Linked DNA regions of Homo sapiens: region 2 is linked to region 1. The links are contacts of gene promoters, found by promoter capture Hi-C in human tissues and cell types (Jung and others, 2019). All regions are on one chromosome and are shown on one strand. Each heading gives the region's core, a stretch centred on a gene start or on the middle of the fragment in contact. The rest is flanking DNA. Distances are from core to core; before and after follow the strand shown. Region 1 holds the start of RUSC1 (RUN and SH3 domain containing 1). Region 2 overlaps MSTO1 (misato mitochondrial distribution and morphology regulator 1).

The links. Contacts are between HindIII fragments. The study calls those that stand out against the background at their distance.
Region 2: a contact is called between a fragment that was not itself captured here and the fragment with the promoter of RUSC1 in region 1, in 1 of the 25 tissues and cell types used here (dorsolateral prefrontal cortex).

What each region holds. Positions count from the first base shown.
Region 1 is chr1:155,318,709-155,325,974 of GRCh38, forward strand. It overlaps RUSC1 (RUN and SH3 domain containing 1), which reads left to right and starts at 2,186. Exons shown (of 10, transcript NM_001105203.2): 1 at 2,186-2,283; 2 at 2,980-4,422; 3 at 6,137-6,235; 4 at 6,394-6,470; 5 at 6,608-6,782; 6 at 6,859-6,964; 7 at 7,156-7,202. The coding sequence starts at 3,066. It overlaps FDPS (farnesyl diphosphate synthase), which reads left to right. Exons shown (of 11, transcript NM_002004.4): 7 at 1-45; 8 at 148-220; 9 at 903-980; 10 at 1,086-1,220; 11 at 1,701-1,957. The coding sequence ends at 1,901. RUSC1-AS1 (RUSC1 antisense RNA 1) reads right to left here and starts at 5,468. Exons shown (of 6, transcript NR_145424.1): 1 at 5,370-5,468; 2 at 3,535-3,729; 3 at 2,917-2,987; 4 at 1,095-1,224. RefSeq lists silencers at 2,128-2,277, 4,258-4,497, 4,788-5,017, 5,058-5,257, 5,598-5,967 and 1 more and enhancers at 2,893-3,876, 6,048-6,257. The HindIII fragment of the contact is 15,399 bases long and covers 1,805-7,266 here.
Region 2 is chr1:155,613,851-155,621,116 of GRCh38, forward strand. It overlaps MSTO1 (misato mitochondrial distribution and morphology regulator 1), which reads left to right. Exons shown (of 14, transcript NM_018116.4): 14 at 209-1,101. The coding sequence ends at 423. It also overlaps the pseudogene LOC100419798. Among named protein-coding and RNA genes, the nearest start is that of MSTO1, 7.3 kb to the left of the region's middle. The HindIII fragment of the contact is 7,084 bases long and covers 1-5,183 here.

The DNA of each region.
Region 1 (7,266 bases), core at 936-3,435:
AGCCCCCCAGGGCAATGTGGATCTTGTCAGATTCACTGAAAAGAGGTGAGGGGAGGTGAGGGACAGCGCGAACCATGTCTGGACAGCGAGGGAGGGCTCAGGATGTGCATTGCCCTCCTGAGGAGTTTCTCTTCTCCCCTTACTCAGGTACAAATCTATTGTCAAGTACAAGACAGCTTTCTACTCCTTCTACCTTCCTATAGCTGCAGCCATGTACATGGTGAGTGAGCCTCCTCACCCCTCTCTGCTCTGCTGATGGGGGCTTTTGGACAGCAAGGCATAGAGCAGAAAACGTGAACACTGCTACCCCTGGTGAAAAACTGTGTGACCTTGAGCAAGTCGGTCTCGCTCAGTCTCTTTCCTCAGCTGGGGATAAAATTCCTACTTCACAGGACTGTAAAGATTAAGCAAGGCAAGGGATATGAAAGTGCTTAGCACATAATAGGGGAACAATATATCCTGTATCTGAGTATGGATAGGAGTGTGGAGATCATCCAGGTTGAGAGGGAGAAGAGTGGATTAAAGACAGTCAGTGGGATTAAGTGTCTACCCTGACCTTGCTTCTCTACATTTCCTTTTCATCTTGAAAGAAGTTGGAGGTGGCAAAAATATTAGGAAGGTGGATCAGAATGACTTGGGGACTGACATTTGTGAGGGAAGAGACAGGCTGTGCACCTCTAGAATGGATTCATCTCTTTTATGACTCCCAGGAAGGCCTAGCCAAAAATAAGTGGGATTGAGGTTGGACCATCAGTCAGGACTGTCTAGGTCAGGGAAGCCAAGATGTCTGAAGAGAGAGGAAAGATTTGGGGCTGCAGTAGGGCAAGACCCCATGGGAGGAAGCAGCCAGGAAGATGCCGGCACCCCTGGGGTTTGGCTTATTAACCCCCCTTTCCCTGCAGGCAGGAATTGATGGCGAGAAGGAGCACGCCAATGCCAAGAAGATCCTGCTGGAGATGGGGGAGTTCTTTCAGATTCAGGTAAGAAGGCAGGAGGCAGTAGCAGAGAACAGGCACCAGCTTCACTCCTCCTCTGCCCAGGAACCTCATCCTTCCTCTTTTGCTGCCCTCCCCCTCCCTGCCCAGGATGATTACCTTGACCTCTTTGGGGACCCCAGTGTGACCGGCAAAATTGGCACTGACATCCAGGACAACAAATGCAGCTGGCTGGTGGTTCAGTGTCTGCAACGGGCCACTCCAGAACAGTACCAGATCCTGAAGGTGCCTGAGAGAGGGTGGTGGGTCCCTGAGTTGGTGGAAAGGGATAGAGCAGTGGTTCTCAACTAGAGGCAGTTTTCCTCCCGAGGGGACATTTGGCAATGTCAGCAGACATTTTTTGCCATTGTCATTACAACTCTGTGTGTGTGCATGTGGTACAGACATCTAGTTGGCAGGAGCCAAAGATGTTGCCAAACATGTAGTACACAGAACAGCTCCCCCAGACAGGATTATCTGGTCCCAAATTTCAATAGTGCCAAGGTGGAGAAACCCTGGAGTAGAGGATGCCTGGTATGAGGCAATATTTGGGATAGGGAAGGGAAGCTTGGGATTTTAGCTACGTAGAGACACTTGAAAATTGGAGGGAGGAAAGGAGTGGGTGGCTTTGGAGATGTTCTGGAATATGTGAATGAGGGGAGTGGAGGGGTCCTGGAGGCTCTGGGGAAGGCCAAGCCCGTTTTCCTGTCTTTCAACCTCTTCCAGGAAAATTACGGGCAGAAGGAGGCTGAGAAAGTGGCCCGGGTGAAGGCGCTATATGAGGAGCTGGATCTGCCAGCAGTGTTCTTGCAATATGAGGAAGACAGTTACAGCCACATTATGGCTCTCATTGAACAGTACGCAGCACCCCTGCCCCCAGCCGTCTTTCTGGGGCTTGCGCGCAAAATCTACAAGCGGAGAAAGTGACCTAGAGATTGCAAGGGCGGGGAGAGGAGGCTCTCAATAAATAATCGTGTAACCTTCTTGTGGTTCTGTTCTTGCTCGGCCCAGCCAGAGTCTGGCTCTTTCCAGAATGTGCAGGGTGGGGTGCTGGGAGGACTCGCTGCACGGAACCAGGACCCAGGGGCCAAAAGCTTAGGATATATCAAACCCTCTAGGTGGGTGACAAAAGACGCTAAACGCTGGGGGCGGGTCTGAGCTACGCCACGCCCATGCGCGAAGGGGTGCAGCTGCGCAGCGCAGGGTAGGTTGTGCTAGTGCCCCTCCCCTCCCGCTCTGTGCCCCGCCGGGCGGGGACCGTGGGAGCCGCGGACAAGCCCAAGGCCGGAGCGGTTCCAGGAGGACCCTGGTGAGGAGGGCTCGGCCCATGGGTGTAGACCGATGGACCTGGGCACGAGGGGCGGGGCAGGACAAGGGAGCAGGAGAAATGAATAGAGAAAGGGTGCGGTGGTGGCTGAACGATGGAGACGAATGCGGAGAGAATGGACATACCGCTGTTCCGAGGGGCGAGGGCGCAGGCTGGAGCCCGGCCGAGGCAGCCAGCAGATGCGGAGTTGACAAGCTGACGGCTGCTCCATCCTTTTCCTCTCCAGCCCCCACCCCTTTCCTGCATTCACCAGACAAACTCTGCGTATTGCCCCACCCCCATCCTCCACCTCCTTTCAGGGCATCTGGGTGGGTCTCCCTGGGTCCCTTCCTCTGGGAGTAAGGGGTAGGCTGGAGGGCAGGGCCAGATTGCGGCAGCAGGGACCTGGAGGTCCATTCTGGGCCCGGACCTCTTCCAGGCCCCCGCCCCCCTTCGGAGATCCAGAGCGCAGCCGCGTTCTCTGACCCTCCCGGCTCCATTCCCGGGGGGTTACATTCGACTCCATCTGCAAACACTGCAGTGGAAACTAATGGTCAGTCGATTGCGATTTGCATCTCATTGAAATATCTTCCAAAGCAGCCAGAGCCTTCAGGCCTGCTGCTGCCGTCAAGTCACCTCGGTGTCCTTCCCCGCAGCTCTTGTCCTCACTGGCCGGGCTTCACCACCTCTGTCTTCTAGGTCTGCACCTGTGGTTGCCAGGTAGGTGGATGTGAGAGACCCTACCCTTCTGGTTCTCTAGAAGCCATCCCATCGCCGCTAGCATCATGCTGTCCCCTCAGAGAGCTTTACTCTGCAACCTCAACCACATCCACCTCCAGCACGTCTCCCTGGGCCTGCACTTGTCCCGCCGTCCTGAGCTACAGGAGGGGCCTTTGAGCACACCCCCTCCTCCAGGAGACACTGGGGGCAAGGAGAGCAGGGGCCCCTGCAGTGGCACCCTGGTGGACGCCAATTCCAACAGCCCAGCTGTGCCCTGCCGGTGCTGCCAGGAGCACGGTCCGGGCCTAGAAAACCGGCAGGACCCGTCACAGGAGGAAGAGGGGGCTGCCTCTCCCTCAGACCCAGGCTGCTCCTCCTCACTCAGCTCCTGCTCAGATCTTAGCCCCGATGAGTCCCCTGTCTCAGTCTACTTGCGGGACCTCCCTGGTGATGAGGATGCCCACCCTCAGCCCAGTATCATCCCCCTGGAGCAGGGCTCCCCACTGGCTTCAGCAGGCCCTGGCACCTGCTCACCGGACAGCTTCTGCTGCTCTCCTGATTCCTGCTCCGGAGCTTCTTCTTCACCCGATCCTGGCCTGGACTCGAACTGCAACGCCCTGACCACCTGCCAGGACGTCCCTTCCCCAGGCTTGGAGGAAGAGGACGAGAGGGCGGAGCAGGATCTCCCTACCTCTGAGCTCTTAGAGGCGGATGATGGGAAAATCGACGCTGGGAAAACGGAGCCCAGTTGGAAGATTAACCCAATTTGGAAAATTGACACAGAGAAAACTAAAGCTGAATGGAAAACCACTGAAAACAATAACACTGGTTGGAAAAACAACGGGAATGTTAACTCTAGCTGGAAAAGTGAACCTGAAAAATTCGACTCTGGTTGGAAAACCAACACAAGAATAACTGATTCTGGCTCGAAAACAGATGCAGGGAAAATTGATGGAGGATGGAGAAGTGACGTCAGCGAGGAGCCGGTGCCCCACCGGACAATCACGTCCTTCCACGAGCTGGCCCAGAAGCGCAAGCGGGGCCCAGGGCTGCCCCTTGTCCCGCAGGCGAAGAAAGATCGCAGTGACTGGCTCATAGTCTTCTCGCCCGACACCGAGCTCCCCCCCTCGGGGTCGCCGGGCGGCTCCTCGGCACCTCCTCGGGAAGTCACCACCTTCAAGGAACTCCGGTCCCGAAGCCGGGCCCCAGCCCCGCCAGTCCCGCCTCGAGACCCCCCAGTTGGCTGGGCTTTGGTCCCGCCCCGGCCCCCACCCCCGCCTGTCCCTCCCCGAAGGAAGAAGAACCGACCTGGACTGCAGCCCATAGCGGAGGGGCAGTCCGAGGAGGGCCGGGCTGTCAGCCCAGCGGCTGGCGAGGAGGCCCCAGCCGCGAAGGAGCCGGGCGCGCAGGCCGGCCTGGAGGGTAAGAGGTCGCAAGAAGCGGGAGGAGGGCTGGGCTTCGGCCGCTCACGCCTCCTAGGCTTCCAACCCGGCCCCCTGTCTTCCCTCCATTCTGTGTCACCCATCCTCCCCGCCCCTTCTACCAGGGAGCGCTCCGGGAAAGGGAAACTGGGTGGGTCATTGGGTTATGGGACTAACTGTTTGCTCCCTCTTCTTCCCGCCCCTTCTTGCCTGGCTGCCCATCCCGCTGCCCTCCTTCCCTCTGCGCCTGGCCCCGCCAATCCCGCCTGCAGCCGGTCCCCTCCTGCTCCCTCGGCCCCTGGTTTTCCGGTTCTCGGCCGACGGGCGCCCCCTGTTGGAGGGTGGGGGCGCAGGCGCAGCTGGGTCTCTGCTCCTGGCTCCTCTGGCCGGGTGGCCCGGCGCCGGGCTGCGGCTGCTGGGGGCGCCGAGCCCCCCAGAGGAGCAGCTGCTGCCCGTCCGCCTGTCCCCGGTGGGAGCCTATTCGCCTCCGACTCGGGGAGCCTTGCCCTGCCTGGCCAGCCCCGAGCTGGCACTGCTGCTGTCCCCGCTCTTTCCCAGAAGTAGCACCTTCCCCGCCGCGGCTCCCCCACCCCGCCAGGTACCCGCCCCCCCGCTGCCACCGCAACCTCGTCCGCCGAAGGCCCCTCGCTGGACCAGGAGCCCATCGCCTCCGCCCAGGCTACGTAAGACGGACCCGGGCTAGCCCCGCGGGCCACGCCTCAGGCGGGCCGCCCCGCCCACTCTCGCCCGGCCCCGTTTTCGCTTTTTTTCCGGGGTTGCCCAGCTTAGTCCCGCCCTTCAGTTTAAGCCGACTCCAAGCAAGTTTGTCGGCCTTGGGGAGTCTGGCCCCGTTCCTAGTGCTGGAGGGGGAAGTTGTTGCCTTTCCTGCTCCGTGGGCCGGCCCCCTCTCCCTCCAGACCCACCTGGGCATAGTGGACGCGGGCTTACCCAGCCTCCATGCCAAGTCTAGGGGGTCCCAGCGAGTCTGTTGTTAGGGGCTTTGGGTCACACCCTCTGTGGAATTCCTTGGCCTGTGCAGCTCGGGCCTGCCCCCCGACCTTGCTAGGGAGGGGTGGAGGGTGAAGCTCCCGGGAGCTCATTGGCACTAGAGGTTCTGGCCACGCCCTCTCCGCGAGTCCAGTCCCACGCGGGATGAAGAGGGCACCCTCCGCCAAGAGGCTGCTGCGGGACCCGGGTTTCCCCTTTCCGGCGCCTTCCAGCCTCCCAATCCTCGGGTCTCGCCTCCCTCCGTCTCCTCCCTTTCCCCTGTCTGTCTTTCCATTGGTCCATGCCGCCCACGTGCTCCCCGGGGCTCCGCAGGCAGGACTGGGCCCCGGGGCGGTGCGCTGGGCTACACCTCCCTCCCCGCGCCCCGTCCTCTCCCGCCCTACAGGCCCTAGCAGGGCAGGCGGGAGGTGAGCGCGGCCATCCCGCTCCCGGAGTTCCGGGATCCTGGAGGTGGGGGCTGTGCCCTGAGGGAGGGCACAGGGAACCGGGATGGGGCTGGGGGACAGCGAGTGCTGGGAAGTGTGCGAGATTTCACTCCGGGGCTCGGGTCGAGCTACCCCGTGCTTCAGGCGGTCCTGCGCCTCCTCTCCCCAAGACCCTTCGGGGACACAGCACTGCAGACCCGCCGGAGACAACTTGTGCGGGAGCCCGGAGTCCTCGGAATAACACTTGGTAAGTGTTACCGCGCCCTTCTTCCCTTACGCCAGTCCGTAGTTCGTGGTCCTTCGCCGGTGTCCCCGGAGCCCAGCGGCTGTGGATGGCAGAAGCCCAGAGTGGGACTGGTCAGCTGCAGGAGCAGAAGAAAGGTAGGGCACCCTGACTCCCGACCCCGCGCTTCCGAATAAACTGCCCTTCGCCCCCGGCCCTGCTCTCAGGCTGTCCGAAGGCAGTCTCTCCACGCCCCTCGGGCAAGCCTGGGTAGGGGCGCGGCCTCCTAGCGTCTTCCCTTTCCCACTCCTCCCAGGTCTTCTGATAGCCGTCAGCGTCTCCGTTGATAAAATCATCTCGCATTTCGGGGCCGCCCGGAACTTGGTGCAGAAGGTGAAGGTGGCTGGGGGGAGGCTGTTGGGATGAGGAGAGTAATGGAGCTCCGCGGGGGGTGCGGGAATGGTTGGCGGGAGGTGGCTGGGAGGTGTCTGGAGGGATCTCTGGAGCCATCGGCATCGCGCCACCTCCAGGCCCAGTTGGGTGATAGCCGGCTGAGCCCGGATGTGGGGCACCTGGTGCTGACCACCCTCTGCCCGGCCCTCCACGCCCTGGTGGCGGACGGGCTGAAGCCTTTCCGGAAGGACCTCATCACCGGGCAGCGCAGGAGCAGCCCCTGGAGCGTGGTGGAGGCGTCGGTGAAGCCAGGTGAGCCAGGAGGGCGTGGGACCCGGCAGTGCGCAGGGCAGGGCCGGGCTTGGCTGACTGCACCCCACGTTCTCAGGCTCCAGCACCCGCTCCCTTGGAACCCTGTATAGCCAGGTCAGCCGTCTAGCCCCGCTGAGCAGCAGCCGTAGCCGCTTCCATGCCTTTATCCTGGGCCTCCTCAAGTGAGTTGCCTTCTTTCCAGTGCCCTTCCCACGACCTGGGACTGCAGGAGCGTCATGGGTGGGACACAGTAGTAGTGCCTCACATCCCCAGAGAAGGCCCCCCCTCTTCCAATCTCATCTCCCATCCTCCACCCAGAGAGGACTGGAGTCCTCCACCTCCCTGAACTTCCATTCCCTCTTTTCTCCCCTAGCACCAAGCAGTTGGAGCTGTGGTTTTCCAGTCTCCAGGAAGATGCAGGTCAGAGGTTCAGATGGTAGAGGATGGGGCTGATGGGCTGGGAGGATGGGAAGGAAAGAGTTCT
Region 2 (7,266 bases), core at 392-2,891, 290 kb after region 1:
GTCCACAGTTAAACATTCCTTTATTCACCCTATGGCTCCCAAGAAAAGCATTCTTCCTCTGGAGTACTGGTGTACTAAGGGGACAATACACCAAATTTGTTGAGTTTACAATCAAGTCTACTAAGGTTGGACTTCCTTATCAGTTTGGCAGAGTCCCAGGGCAGAATAATCATCCATCTACAGGTCTCTGTTTCCTCTCCCTCCACAGCAGTGGAGAGCATCCCAGTGTTTGGGGCACTGTGTTCCTCTTCGTCCCTGCACCAGACCCTGGAAGCCTTGGCCAGAGACCTCACCAAACTCGACTTGCGGCGCTGGGCCAGCTTCATGGATGCTGGAGTGGAGCACGATGACGTAGCAGAGCTGCTGCAGGAGCTACAAAGCCTGGCCCAGTGCTACCAGGGTGGTGACAGCCTCGTGGACTAAAGTTCCCAGTGTGGGAGAAAGGAGCTAGTTTGCAATAAAAACAGCTGGATGCAGGAGCCCAGTGTCTTCATGCAGAGGAGCTCAATGTCGCGGGACTAGCTACACCAACATATGCACTTTTTACATTTAGAAACACTGTGATTAGACCACAGAACAATAAATATGTGCCATCAGACCAAAAAAAAGTAGAGAAAGGAGCTGAACTCCACTCTCGATGCTACTTACAGAGGACATCTGTAAAGTCTTCATAAAAGACCTTGAATGATGCCTAGGATGGCAGAGCCCCTGGGTCCTACTCCATCCTCCAGCCTTTGTCCTTGTCCTGGCCTCCTGCTCTCCAGATCTGTAAACTGGGCTCAAGGACTGTACAAGCAGAGTACAACTACCCGCCTCCCCGGTGCCAGGGCGCCTGTTGGGTTTGGTCCTGTGTAGATGATTCCCAGAGTCTCATTCATCCAGCTCCTCTTCAGACAGAAGGTCCCCATGGTCAGACAGCTGGTCTGCATTGCTGGTACTGGTTGCATCATCCTCATCCTCAGAGCTGGCTTCACAGGCAGTGTGGAAGAGCTGCATGAGTTCTCGAAAATGGTGGGAAACCTAAGAAAGGAGGAGGGCTGTATTCACTGATCCTTAGTAACATGTTAACATTTATGAAGCACTATATATTGATTTGCAAAATCTTTTGTTTATTCCACACAGCAAGGTTGAGAGAGCTATGTCACTATAGATAAGGAAACTCAAGAGGCTAAATGTTTTGCCCAAAGTCACACGACTCCTAAAAACAAAACTAGAATGGCCGGGCACAGTGGCTCACACCTGTAATCCCAGCACTTTGGGAGGCCGAGGCAGGTAGATCACTTGAGGTCAGGAGTTCGAGACCAGCCTGGCCAACATGGTGAAGCCCTATCTCTACTAAAAATAGAAAAATTGGCTGGGTGGTGGGCACCTGTAATCCCAGCCACTCGAGAGGCTGAGGCAGGAGAATTGCTTGAACCTGGGACGTGGAGGTTGCAGTGAGCCACGATCATGCCACTGCACTCCAGCCTGGGCGACAGAGCAAGACTCTGGCTCAAAAAAAAAAAAAAAGCTAGAATGGAAACGGGCTTCCACCTAAAAATGCAGTGTCCTTTCTCTTCTCCTAGAACCACTACCACCCTGATGAGTCAAGCCTTTCCTTAGATCAAACCTTTACAAAAACCACTTATCTTGGATATGAAAACTCCTTCTTTGGCCTTTCTGTCTCTTAGTTGGCCACCTTGACCTCTTTTTGCCAGGTCTTCACCCCAACCCGCACCTACCTCAGCAGGGGTCTTATTTCCCAGCTGCTGGGAGATGATGCTGAAGGTCTGTGGCTGTGCCCCTTGCTCCTGGCACATGGTGAGGATCACACGGTCAGCTTCCCTGTAACCCAGGTATCATGATTAACCCTAGGGAGCCACATGGATGTGGTCTATGCTCTTTTCCAAACACACATCATCCACCCTTACCTACCTTGTCCACAGGACAACCTTTTCCCCAGTGGAGCTGACCTTGCTGTTATTGGCACACACCGTAGCTTCTGTGGCCTTTGGCTGCTGTTCCCCCTCTGGACCCTTGCCCTGTGTTCCACTGTCTTTAGCCAAACCCCCTCTAGGGGCTTTGGGAGAAGTCTCTGAGGTGTCAATTCCTGATGGAGATTCATGGACAGGGCACGTCCTGTCTCTTGTCTTCACCCTAGCTCTGCTTGAGGGCAGCCATCTCTCTTGAGTGTCTGGTTTCCCGGACACATGTCTTCTCCCTGCATCTCTGGTCTTTGAGGAAACAGGACTCAGGAAGGAAGCAGGGGGTTCCACGGTACCAGGCAATTTCTCAGTTTCTGATGCATCCCAGACCAGCATCAAAGCCTCTGACTCACTCACTGCCTTTTGGCCCTCCCTCTCTTTCTGAAGTCTGGGGGATGCCTTGGGGCAGGAGCGAACCTCAGGCCCAACCTGGTTTCTCTTAACAGTGTACAGTACAGCTCCAGTTGTGGGGGGAAATTGAGGAGTCTCTGGTGAATGAGGTGGTGGGCCATCCAGGAGGAGCCGTTCTGTAAGAGTCACTTCTCGAGGGGATGGCAAAGTGCCCCCCACTGCCAATCCTGCTTAGGAGGAAAATAAGGATCCCAGGGTACTGTGAGGATCAAGATGCACCTAAGCACGAGAAATTACCTGTGGCCAGGTACTGTGCAAAAATTCTAATAAAAAAGAGTGCTGGGCATGGTGGCTCACACCTATAACGTCCGCACTTTGGGAAGCCAAAGTGGTGGGACTGCCAGGAGTTTGAGACTAGCCTGGGCAATATGGTGAGACCCCATCTCTGCAAGAAAATATAAATAATAAAGGAGTTGGGTGGAGATGGTGGGCATAATGTCACTTATGCAAAGATATAAAGTCCTACTGCCAAAGCTGAGAACGGCCCAGTCTTTAGGATGTAGATTACACTAGATTTAGAGATGGGGGAAGGGTTTTAGGAATAAAACACAAGACAATGTTGAATCATGTGAAATTTGTAGCACTTTTTTTTTTTTTTTTGAGAGATTTTTGGTCTTGTTGCCCAGGCTGGAGTACAGTAGCGTGATCTCAGGTCATGGCAACCTCCGCCTCCGGGGTTCAAGGGATTCTCCTGCCTCAGCCTCCCAAGTAGGTGGGATTATAGGTGCCCACCACCGGGCCCAGCTATTTTTTTTTTTTTTTGTATTTTTAATAGAGATGGGGTTTCACCATGTTGGCCAGGCTGGTCTTGAATTCCTGACCTCAGGTGATCCACCCACCTCGGCCTCCCAAAGTGTTGGGATTACAGGCGTGAGCCACTGCGCCCGGCCACACACTCTTAATTCTGCAAGAGGAGTGAGGCCATAGGATAGAAAAAGCCTGAACAGGAGAAGGGCTTCTTATGGGTCCATCAGTGAAAGAGGTGGTATGTCCATCCCTGAAAAGGGTGTTATTTATCCAGGCTCATGGAGGTTCCTGTCTGGGGTATAGAAGAACGAGACTGAAAAACAGAAGGGCTGGGTTGGCAGATCACTCACCTGAAATAGGCATCTCTCTTTCTGGTGGTCCTGACAGTCCTGTTCTGGGTGGCTTCATGGGGCTCCTTGCTCTTGTAGGATTTGCTGTCACAGACCCACAGGGATGATCTTCTGGGTCAAAGGTGTCCTGACCGCCTATGCCTTTGGGGCCCACCAAAGGAAGAAGCCCTGCCTGATGCTCACCAAGTCAACCCACATGCATATCTGCTCCAACAATTTTGTTTTTTTAAGAGAAAGGGTTTCAGTTGGGTGCAATGGTACATGCCTGTAAACCCAGCTACTTGGGAGGCTGAGGTGTGAGGATCACTTGAGCCCAAGGGTTCAAGATCAGCCTGGGCAACATAGCGAGACCCTGTCTCAAAAAGAAACAAACAAAAAGAGGCCAGGTGTGGTGGCTTACACCTGTAATCCCAGTACTTTGGAGGCCGAGGGCAGGGATCACTTGAGGTCAGGAGTTCCAGATTAGCCTAGTGAACATGGTGAAACCCCATCTCTACTAAAAATACAAAAATTAGCGGAATGTTGTGGCGGGGGCCTGTAGTCTCAGCTACTTGGGAAGCTGAGGCATGAGAATTGCTTGAACCCAGGAGGCAGAGGTTACAGTGAGCTGAGATTGTGCCACTACACTCCAGGCTGGACGAAAGTGAGACTCCACCTCAAAAAAAAAAAAAAAAAGAGACAAGGTCTCACAGATAACACAAATTATCTTGCCCAGGTTGGAGTGCAGTGCCTGTTTACACAGGTATGACCATAGTGGTACACTATAGCCTCAGACTCCTGGGCTCAAGTAGTGATCTTCTGGTGTGAGCCTCCTGAGTGCCCCTTTGCCTAGCTACTGCTCCAAAGATTTTATTTTGTTTTATTTATTTATGTATTTATTTATATATTTATTTTTTTAGCTGGAGTTTCGCTCATGTTGCACAGGCTGGAGTGCAACGGTGCGATCTCCACTCACCGCAACCTCTGCCTCCCAGGTTCAAGCGATTCTCCTGCCTCAGCCTCCCGAGTAGCTGGGATTACAGGCATGCACCACCATGCCCAGCTAATTTTGTATTTTTAATAGAGACAGGGTTTCTCCATGTTGTTCAGGCTGGTCTCCAACTCCCAACCTCAGGTGATCTGCCTCCCAAAGTGTTCAGATTACAGGTGTGAGCCACCACATCCGGCCAGGGGAAGGGTATTAATACTGGATTTGATTCCTAATGATTCCACTCTCCACTCCACCCTACTGATCTCCAGCTAGGGCACTATTCCAAGCAGAGCAAGGAGGTAAGGCCCCTCCCAGGTCCCAGAACCTCCTTCGCTGAACATCCCTTCCAGCACATCCATGGCATTCCTGAGCCTGTGAAGATCAGACAGGCTCCGGTTTCAGGTAGCAATCCCTCCCTATCCCAGTGCTTTATGCTTTGGGTGAGCCTGAAAAGTCCTTGCCTTTTTCATCTCCTCCAGGAAGCCCATGAGCCTCCAGAGGCAAAAAGGTATGGAGTAGGTTGGGGAAAGAGACAAGGGAAAGGCCTAAGGCCCGGAAGACAACAGGAAGAAAGCAGGACAGGAAAGAATACCTCGGTGATCTCCTGGGGAAGGCAGTCTGCACAGCCTTGGAGGACCTTGATAATCTTCTGGTGGTGTGAGGGGTTCTCTGCAAAGCAAATCTCCAGCTGCCGAAGGAACTTGCGGCTCTTCTCAAAAGCCTGCTGCTCCTCAAACTACCAGAGTGGAAAGTGGGCAAAAGAGGAGTCATGATACAGCTAGAGCAGGACTTGAGGGTTCTAAGGATAAGAACTAGTGGACTAGGACACAAGAGATGACAGAACCCTGGTTTAAAATTCTAGTTTACAACTATTGAGATCTAATTTAAAACCCTAACCTCCATCCACCTTGGGCCACTGGTGGGTAGCCACCCAAAGCAATTAAGATGTGAGCAACAGCTTCAAGAGATGTATATATTTCATGTTGTTTGCTGTATTATGGATGTGAAATGAGACACTCAAACTCATGTAATACTTTAGAGCTTACATTACGAAGAATTTTCAGGCCTTGCAAGGTGGCTCATGCCTGTAATCCCACCATTTGGGAGGCCAAAGCAGGAGGATCGTTTAAAGCCAGGAGTTTAGCCGGGTGCGGTGGCTCATGCCTGTAATCCCAGCACTTTGAGAGGCCAAGGTGGGTGGATCATGAGGTCAGTGGTTCGAGACCAGCCTGGCCAAGATGGTGAAACCCCGTCTCTACTAAAAAATACAAAAAAATTAGCTGGGCGCGGTGGCAGGTGCCTGTAATCCCAGCTACTCAGAAGGCTGGGGCAGGAGAATCACTTGAACCCGAGAGGTGGAGGTTGCAGTGAGCTGAGATCACACCACTGCACTCTAGCCTGGGTGACAGAGCAAGACTCCATCTCAAAAAAAAAAAAAAAAAAGCCAGGAGTTCAAGACCAGCGTGGGCAACATAGCGAGACTCCATCTCTACAAAAAAACTTAAAAATTAGGCAGATGTTGTGGTGTGCACCTGTAGCCCCAGCTATTTGGGAGGCTGAGTCAGGAGGATCCCTGGGGCCTGTGTTGCCCAGGCTGGTCTCAAACTCCTGGCTACAAGGGATTCTCCCACCTCAGCCTCCTGGAGTGCTGGGATTACAGGTGTGAGCCACGTGCATGGCCGAGACACTGTCTCTCTCTTTTTTTTTGGGGGGGGGGGGACAAGTTCTTGCCCTTGTCACCCAGGCTGGAGTGTTAGTGGAGGAATCATGGCTCAGTGAAGCCTCAATCTCCCAGGCTCAAGCAGTCTTCCCACCTCAGCCTCCCAAGTAGCTGGGACCACAGGTGTGCACCACCACACTCAGCTAATCTTTTTATTTTTTGTAGAGGCGGGGTTTTGCTATGTTGTCCAGGCTGGCCTTGAAACCCTGAGCTCAAGCCATCCATCGGCCTTGGCCTCCCAAAATGCTGGGATTTCAGGTGTGAGCCAAAATACCCGGCTGACATTATCTCTTTATTTTTATTTTGTTATTTTTTATTTATTTTTTTGACATGGAATCTCACTCTTGTTGCCCAGGCTGGGGTGCAGTGGCACGATCTTGGCTCACTGCAACCTCTGCCTCTAGGGTTCAAGCGATTCTTCTGCCTCAGCCCCCCTAATAGTTGGGATTACAGGCACATGCTACCATGCCCGGCTAATTTTTGTATTTTTAGTAGAGACGGGGTTTCACCATGTTGGCCAGGCTGATCTCGAACTCCTGACCTCAGGTAATCTACCCACCTTGGCCTCCCAAAATGCTGGGATTACAGGCGTGAGCCACCACGCCTGGCCTATTTTTTTATTTTTTATTTTGAGATGGAGCCTATCTCAGCTCACTGCAACCTCCGCCTCCTTGGTTCAAGCGATCCTCCTGCCTCAGCCCTGCTAGTAGCTGGGATTACAGGCACATGCCACCATACCTGGCTAATTTTTGAATTTTTAGTAGAGATGGGGTTCCGCCATGTTGGCCAGGCTGGTCTCAAACTTCTGACCTCAGGTTATCCACCCGCCTTGGCCTTTCAAAATGCTGGGATTACAGGCATGAGCCACCGCGCGTGGCCTATTTTTTTATTTTTTATTTTGAGATGGAGCTGATCTCGGCTCACCGCAACCTTTGCCTCCTGGGTTCAAGCAATTCTCCTGCCGCAGCCTCCCAAGTAGCTGGGATTACAGGCACCCACCACCATGCTGAGCTAATTATCTCTTTTTTTTTTTTTTTCTGAGACAGAGTCTCACTCTGTTGCCCAGCCTGGCGTGCAGTGGCACAATCTTGGCTCATTGCAACC